Regions from separate parts of the Homo sapiens genome. Here region 1 is linked to region 2. The links are contacts of gene promoters, found by promoter capture Hi-C in blood cells and fetal thymus (Javierre and others, 2016). All regions are on one chromosome and are shown on one strand. Each heading gives the region's core, a stretch centred on a gene start or on the middle of the fragment in contact. The rest is flanking DNA. Distances are from core to core; before and after follow the strand shown.

What was found. The method cuts DNA at HindIII sites, captures the fragments that hold promoters and counts their contacts. A CHiCAGO score of 5 or more calls a contact.
Region 1: a fragment that was not itself captured here is called in contact with the fragment with the promoter of RPL37A in region 2 in 1 of 17 cell types (total B cells); the score reaches 5.3 in total B cells.

Annotation. Positions count from the first base shown.
Region 1 is chr2:218,668,172-218,672,224 of GRCh38, reverse strand. RNF25 (ring finger protein 25) reads left to right here and starts at 223. Exons shown (of 10, transcript NM_022453.3): 1 at 223-295; 2 at 3,546-3,620; 3 at 3,884-3,986. The coding sequence starts at 255. It overlaps STK36 (serine/threonine kinase 36), which reads right to left and starts at 139. Exons shown (of 27, transcript NM_015690.5): 1 at 10-139. RefSeq lists an enhancer at 219-318. The HindIII fragment of the contact is 1,652 bases long and covers 772-2,423 here.
Region 2 is chr2:216,496,869-216,500,571 of GRCh38, reverse strand. RPL37A (ribosomal protein L37a) reads right to left here and starts at 1,728. Exons shown (of 4, transcript NM_000998.5): 1 at 1,695-1,728; 2 at 1,174-1,302; 3 at 541-623. The coding sequence starts at 1,697. It overlaps RPL37A-DT (RPL37A divergent transcript), which reads left to right and starts at 1,820. Exons shown (of 4, transcript NR_183317.1): 1 at 1,820-1,965. RefSeq lists enhancers at 1,652-2,041, 2,222-2,311. The HindIII fragment of the contact is 3,327 bases long and covers 1-2,904 here.

The sequences.
Region 1 (4,053 bases), core at 348-2,847, 2.2 Mb before region 2:
CTTTCTTACAATTTTACTCGCTAGAACTGGTGAGAAGTTCAGAGGACAAAGGCGCTCAGAGGTGTGGAATGGACGGCGGACCACACATGGGCACTTCCTGGGACACATCCGAACTGCCTCAGGGCCATCAGGCCCGGCTAAGGACCCGGAGTCTGCGGTTGCCTAGAAACGACGCTAGCTGCCCACCCCTCTTAGTTTTCCGCCTCCGACTTCCCTAAGGGCATTTCCGGTTCCGGCTGCGGGCCGGTGAAGATATGGCGGCGTCTGCGTCTGCAGCTGCAGGGGAGGAGGACTGGTAACTTTGGGGGCATGGGCTTTGGCTGACAGCCTGGATCTAGTCCAGAGGCCTAGCAGCTGTCGCAGACGGTCCGTACGGCGGGCGTGTGGGGTGGAGCGAGGGATGAGGGATGGCAGAGATGCTGACATCTCTGGGAAAGCTGGACTGGGGAACGGGAGGGTGGAGGGGCGCTGATCTGAGTGAGAGGAGAACGGGTCGGCGCCCGCCAGGCCAGTTCAGGCCTCGCCGCATCCGGTTCGATCCCTTTTCCTCCAGCTTCACGCCATCCCTTTCTCTCCTCCTCAAATGAATTTTCTCAGGGGCTTTGGGGGATGCCTGCCCATCAGACCTCCCCATCTCCCTTTCTCCTCTCAGAACCAGTGCCCTCCAGTTCCGGCCCCCTTTCCCCTTGGATCAGCCTTTTTCCGCCGACGCTTTCCTCAGCCTTCTCTCTCTCACACAGCACTAGTGAGGACTATTGTATGAATAAAGCTTTACACTTCATATAAAGTCCCTCTAGTCCTTCTCTCAAGCATTCTTAACCAAAGACTAGAACATGGAAGGACTCTGGGATTTGGAAGTAGGATCAATGTGGGTTAACTCCACATTTTATTAGCTGTGTGATGCTGAACAGGCCATCTAGCTTCTGTGAGTCAGTGTCCTCAGCTGTAAAAAAAAAAAGTGGGTGTGGCATTTACCTCAGAATAGTTGAGAGGATCACGACGGATTTGTAATATACTTAAGTCTGTTTTTTGTTTTGTTTTGTTTTGTTTTTTGAGACAGAGTCTCACTCTCGCCCACGCTGGAGTGCGGTGGTGCGATTACGGCTCACTGCAGCCTCGACCTCCCCAGGCTCAGGTGATCCTTCTGCCTCAGCCTTCCGAGTAGCTGAGACTACAGGTGTGTGCCACCATGCCTGGCTAATTTTTGTATTTTTTGTAGAGACGGAGTTTTGCCATGTTGGCCAGACTGGTCTTGAACCCCTGGGTTCAAGTGATCCTCCCACCTCAGCCTCCCAAGGTGCTGGAATTACAGGCGTGAGCCACCACACCCGGCCTCCTTTTCATTAATAACTGAGGTGCAGGCACCTGGGAAGACTAGATGAGTCCCAAAGAAGTAAAGTGATTTGCCAAAAGATAGAAAATTATGAATAGAAATCCATATCTGTCTGACTCCACACCTTAGATTCTTTGTACTAGGACATTCTTCAGTCCCCACTCCCCCAATTTTTTTTTTTTTTTTTTTTTTTTTTGAGACGGAGTCTTGCTCTGTCGCCCAGGCTGGAGTGCAGTGGCGCAATCTCGGTTCACTGCAAGCTCCGCCTCCCGGGTTCATGCCATTCTCCTGCCTCAGCCTCCCGAGTAGCTGGGACTACAGGCGCCCGCCACCACACCCAGCTAATTTTTTGTGATTTTTAGTAGAGACGGGGTTTCACCCTGTTAGCCAGGATGGTCTCTATCTCCTGACTTCATGATCCACCCGCCTCAGCCTCCCAAAGTGCTGGGATTACAGGCCTGAGCCACCGCGCCCGGCCCCCCTCCCCCATTTTGTTGTCACCACCTTACCACCATCCCATCCAGGACCCATATAACTAGGGTGGGCGAAGTATTGAAGGGCCACTTGACTGAGGCTACACCTCAATGTTACATTGGTTCAGGGAGCCCAGCTAGTACTGGCCGTTATTAAGAGTATCTAGACTACTGGTTTTCAAAGTGTTCAGGGAAACTTCTTTTTTTTTTTTTTTTTTAAGAGACAGAGTCTTACTTTGTCACCCAGGCTGGAGTACAGTGGCAAGATCATGGCTCACTACAGCCTCGACCTCCTGGGCTCCCGTGATTCTTCTGCCTCAGTCTCCCAAGTAGCTGGGACCACCGTGTCCAGTTAATTTTTTATTTTTTGTAGAGATAGTGTCTCGCTTTGTTGCCCAGGCTGGTCTCGAACTCCTGGCCTCAAGTGATCCTCCCACCTCAGCCTCCCAAAGCGCTGGGATAACTTACAGTTTACCTGTTCAGGGGAACTTTTAAGATTCAGGGGAGACACCTTGAGCCATGGAGACAGCAACAATGAGTGCAGCAGCCTGTAGTACTGTGAGACTCCCACTCCCATGTCAGCCAGAACTACACTGTTATCTGTGAGGTGTGAAGCTTTATATTTTATATTTTGAAGTTTCTGCCTAAGACTTAACAACACTGACATAGGTCGTGCTGGGGCAGCCTTACTCTTAGAATGAAGAGGGAGCAGTGTGAGAAAGCAAAGTGTGCATTTTTCCATGTATCACTTGGTAGAGCTGTAGACACAAACTGATCACTCAGCTTCAATTTCATTACAACTGCTGTTTCTATGCTTAAGTATGTGTGTCCCTTGATTTACATCAGAACCATGGATCCTAACCTCAACAGGCTGATCTAGATCAACCAGACAGCCAGGTCATAAATACATCCAGAGTACTCTATTACCTCCTTCCTTCCCTCTTTCCTTCTAAGGGAGAAGGTTATATACAGACAGGAAAAAAAGAGGACGTAGACTAGCTACGATAGCCCAGATACTATTAGGTACTTTATGTAAACAAATCACCTTTTATCCTCACAATAACCCTAGAGAGTAGGTGTTATTATCTATATGTGACAGACAGGATAACTTAAGCTTACAGAGAGGTCACGTCCCAGATTGCATAGCTTGTAAGTGATTGGTACCTGTTAACTAACTCCGAGGCTGCTGGCTCTTCCATTACAACACAGCCTTTATACCACCCTAAATATGTTGTGTTGAGGTTGCTATCTCCTTTAAGAAGGCTTAGGGTGACTGGTGTTAAAACTGTATGTAGACAGTAGCCAAGGCACTGGGATCCACACTGGACAGTGACGTAGGGAAAGGTTGGAGTAATATTGGTAACGTTAATGCTAATGAATGAGTGCCATATCTCTAGACCAGAGATTCAGCCACTAAGGGGAATGAAACTTAAACAGGGAGTCAGGAAACCTGGCTCTGGGCCTAGTTCTACCTATGTTAAGCCTTGGTTAGTCATTTTACTTCTCTAGAATCCACTTCTTCATCTGTTGGCAGAAATGATGCCTAAAATTCTGATTTCCATGCCTTCTATTTGGCCAGTTGACAACTTAAGGTAACATATTCCTTGTTTTTAAGGAGTTTAGCAGGAGAATGCATTCTGGTAGATTGCCATTTTTCTACAAAGCCTGCCTTTATTGGCCTTAGCAGGCTTCCACAGGGAGAGCTGTAATGGTAAGTTAGTCTACTCCTGTCTCTCTAGGGTCCTTCCCTCTGAAGTTGAAGTATTGGAGTCCATCTATCTAGATGAACTACAGGTGATTAAAGGAAATGGCAGGTATGTATTCAACCAGTGGTGGGCAGGAGTCCCCCTAGTAATGAGGAGAGGTTCTATGCTGAATTTGGGTCTTAAGACATTGTGAGCCTTGATTCAGAGATAATATTTCTCTTGTGTAGACAAAAGCTATTCCTTTAATCCTACCCCAAAAGAAAGAGTCCAATGTGTACTTCCTTTGCCCACTTCACTGTCTCAGCCCCATCCTCCCCAGCCCCCAAGCCCCTACCCAGTCACATCTGCGTGTCCACTTGATCCACCTGCAGAACTTCACCATGGGAGATCTACATCACTTTGCATCCTGCCACTGCAGAGGACCAGGATTCACAGTATGTCTGCTTCACTCTGGTGCTTCAGGTCCCAGCAGAGGTGAAGCCCCTACTGTGTGGCAGCAAAGGGAGGAAGGGGAGAGTCCCTGGGGTGGACCGCTTCAGCA
Region 2 (3,703 bases), core at 479-2,978:
ATATATGTGCTTAGTGTATTGGACAACACAGGTCTAGATGCTAGTTTGTAGTATAGTGTTTGTAGTATCGCCCTGTCAGGTGATACTGAGTTGCAGATTCACAAACCTGCAGCAGTCTAATACTGTTCAGAAAGACGAAACTGTGGTGGTCCTGATGGCCTCAAGTTCCAAATACAGTTTTGAACTAACTGACCCCTTCACCTATTTTTATCAAAACTTGCAGTGCAAATCAACGTTCAGTAGATTCAGCCCCACTAATGGACCTGCACAGTATCATGACAATGTTCACAACAATGTGCCCAGTGACCATCAAATTCTAAAGTAGTCTGTGAATTAGATTTCCGACTTCTATTTTGGTAGTTTTGTGTTTACTCTTTCAATAACTGAAAATAAACCACCACGGAAGAATCCTGAAAATACAAAGGCATCCTTATTCTCTCAGTCCTGAGAAAGTGTTAAAACTAGCCCATCCAGCAGCAACCTGGAATTTGGGCCTATGTGGTCCACACACTTCCAAATACCACAAGGAACTAGACTCACTTGTACGTCCAGGCACCGCCAGCCACTGTCTTCATGCAGGAACCACAGTGCCAGATCCCCACAGCTCGTCTCTTCATCTTGGTCTATAAAAGAGAACCAATTTTCACTATGAACCAAGTAAGTATTTTCTCTTACAAGCATCCAGAAGTCTAAATTTGGATTCACCTTATTGTCAGGGATGTGAAAGCCTCCCTTTCTCCCTCAAAAACAAAACAGGGATTGCTGTAATGCAGTATTTTGCACATAAACGTTCAAACCTTTATCAAACAAAAATCCCTCGCAGAACAAGTAGAATGGTATTAGATGCACAGACATCTTGGGAGTTGGTGCAGAAACATCAGTAGACAAAACTGATGGAATCATTTCCCACAAAGCAGGTTTGGCTTAGGCTGGGGGCACTCTGTCAAATGATTATTTTACCCATTAACGTTTAAGCGGTTTTCTTTAAATGAAAAACGTCTCACAAAATCTGAAGTTACCATCAACACTTTTATCTTAAAACTCATAATCAACGGTATGAGTAATTCCAACTGCCCACCAGCACACGGCTTATAAAATACCTTGAAGTCAGGCCTCACTTGGGTAAGAAACCTGCCCTCCCTCTCCTCTCACCAGAGACTTTGCCTTACTTACTTTGCCACAGAAAGAGCAAGTGTACTTGGCGTGCTGGCTGATTTCAATTTTCTTCACCATTTTCCGGAGGGAGGCCCCATAGCGGGTCCCGTATTTACCGACGATCCCGACTTTCTTGGTACGTTTGGCCTGTTTAGAGTGAAGGGAGAAACCAGTGATAGACCTGGAACCCAGGCAGGCCCTGGAGCCTCCACACACCGTTCCTCCACCTCACTGACGTGTGACCGACATGTGAATTACATATGACCTAGTTTTCCCTAAATTCAACCCAACGAAACCAGTGCCCAGGGCTGGCCGCGCGCTCCGAAGGCCCGGCGTTAACCCGGCTGGAGCGCGCCAGGCCCAGCCAAGGCGCCCCCGCCCCTCCGCCTTGGGGAGCTTCCGACAATGGTGTCTCCTGCAAAGGCATGGAGACAGGAGAGAACACGGGGTAAGGCAGGAGAGGAGATGGGTGCGGGAGAAGAAAACAAGGACAGATGCAGGCAGATAGAGTTCTAGGCCGCACAGAGACCCACACTCACCATGTCGCCGCGACCTAGGTCCGAGCCCAGAAAGGAAGAGACGCGGTGCGCAGGCGCGGTATTAGGCGGACGAGCGGAAGTGGCTGGTAGAGGCCTAGCTAGGAACTGAGCTCTATGGTTTGGGCGTTTTCAGGCGGCCTCCTGAGAAATGTTTGCAATTGTAAGGCGTCTCTCTCATCCAGGTTTACCCAGATTCGCAAACTATGGCGACAAACAACCATAGCAGAAGCATGTCCGGATTATTTCACATATATCACAAAATCCTGCAAAGGTACGAGTTCCTCCATTCGATGCACAGCACTTGGCTTGGAGAAGTGCATAAATCTTACATTTGTGGGGCCGGGCGCGGTGGCTCACGCTTGTGATTCTAACACTTTGGGAGGCGGGGTGGGTCAGGAGTTCGAGACCAGCCTGGCCAGCAGGGTGAAACCCCGTCTCTATTCCAAATCTCATTTATTTCCCCCTCTGCATTATGCTCTCTAAAAGTGGCTGACTGTGCAGGATGCTAGCGACAGTGGTGACTAAAATCCAAGGTTCCATTCCCAGAACAAGTTGCAGGCCAGCTGCAAACGATCATATAGCCACATTAAGAAGTTAGACAGTTTCAAACTGGTCAGAGTTCTGAAGGAAAGGACGATGGTTCTGCTCGCGACTAATTCAGAAGAGCCTGGTGTTTCCTGAGGAAAGTCTGAGATTGGAAGGCTGGGGAAAAGTTAACAGTCACCTTGGAGTTTTGTGTTCCAGCTGCTGCATCTCAGTGCGGATGGCCTGCCTTCCACTTCATTTCAGAACTCACTTCCATGGCCCCACACTAGGCTGTTAAGACAGCTTCCTGGTCCAGGCCTGAACCCTTAAACTCCAACATCTTACCCTTTACCCACCGTCAATTCTCTGTCCCTCCAGGTCTCTCAAAGGGGTCAGCAGGGAAGAATTGGATTTCTGGTTGAGGCCGGGGGTGGGGAGGGTGTGTTCTGGAACTAGACACATGATCTTCTTTCTTCACGTAGAACACACACACTAGGAAGTTTGGTTGCCTTTTTTCAGGGGATGGCTAATCCAGAGAATAAGAAGCTCAGAAAACTACTGGAATAAGAGTGTAAGAGAGAATCCATGATTAGAGGGCCAAGAAAGACCATGGGAGCTGAAAGGCATTGTGTGGCCCTGATTCCAATCAGAAGTCCGGTAACAAGTAGCTTCCGTTCCCAAAGCTTAATATTAACTGTCTCAAATAATTTTGCACCTGTTCACTTTTCCTCACAATTGTATTAAAGTCAACTTGCATACCTGGGCTGAGGTGGGAAGATCATTTGAGCCTGGGAGGTTGAGGCTGCAGTAAGCTGTCATCACGCCACTGCAGTCCAGCCTGGACAACAGAGTGAGACTCTGTCTCAAAAAATATATATGAATCAAATCAAATCAAAGCAACTTGCAAACAGCTATGTACTTCATATGGTTACAATTGTTGGAGGGTAACACATGGTAGGCACTGAGTATTTTATGTGGATGTTCTCATTTAATTTTCCATTATCCTTTATGATAGGAATGATTATTATCTTCATTACTAAGAAAAAGAGAGGAAGTCTCATGTAATGATTAGGAACTTAGAGGCTCTGGATTCAGTATGGGTTCAAAACAGAACTCTGCTATTTACCAGCTGTGGGACCTCTGACAAGTTATTATATACTTTTCTTTCTTTTTTCTTTTTCTTTTTTTTTTTTTTTTTTTTTTTTTTTTGAGACAGAGTCTCTCTTGGAAAAGATTCTTTGAGACCAGGAGTTCTAGGCAGCCTGGACAATATAGCGAGACCCCATCTCCACACACACAAAAAAATAATAGGCCAGGTATGGTGACACACATCTGTGGTTCTAGCTGCTCAAAAGGCTGAAACGTGAGGATTGCTTGAGCCCAGGAGTTCAGAGGTTACAGTGAGCTATGATCACACCATTTCACTCCAACCTGGACAACAGAGTGAGATCCTTTCTCAAAACAAAAACAAAAAAAGAAAGAAA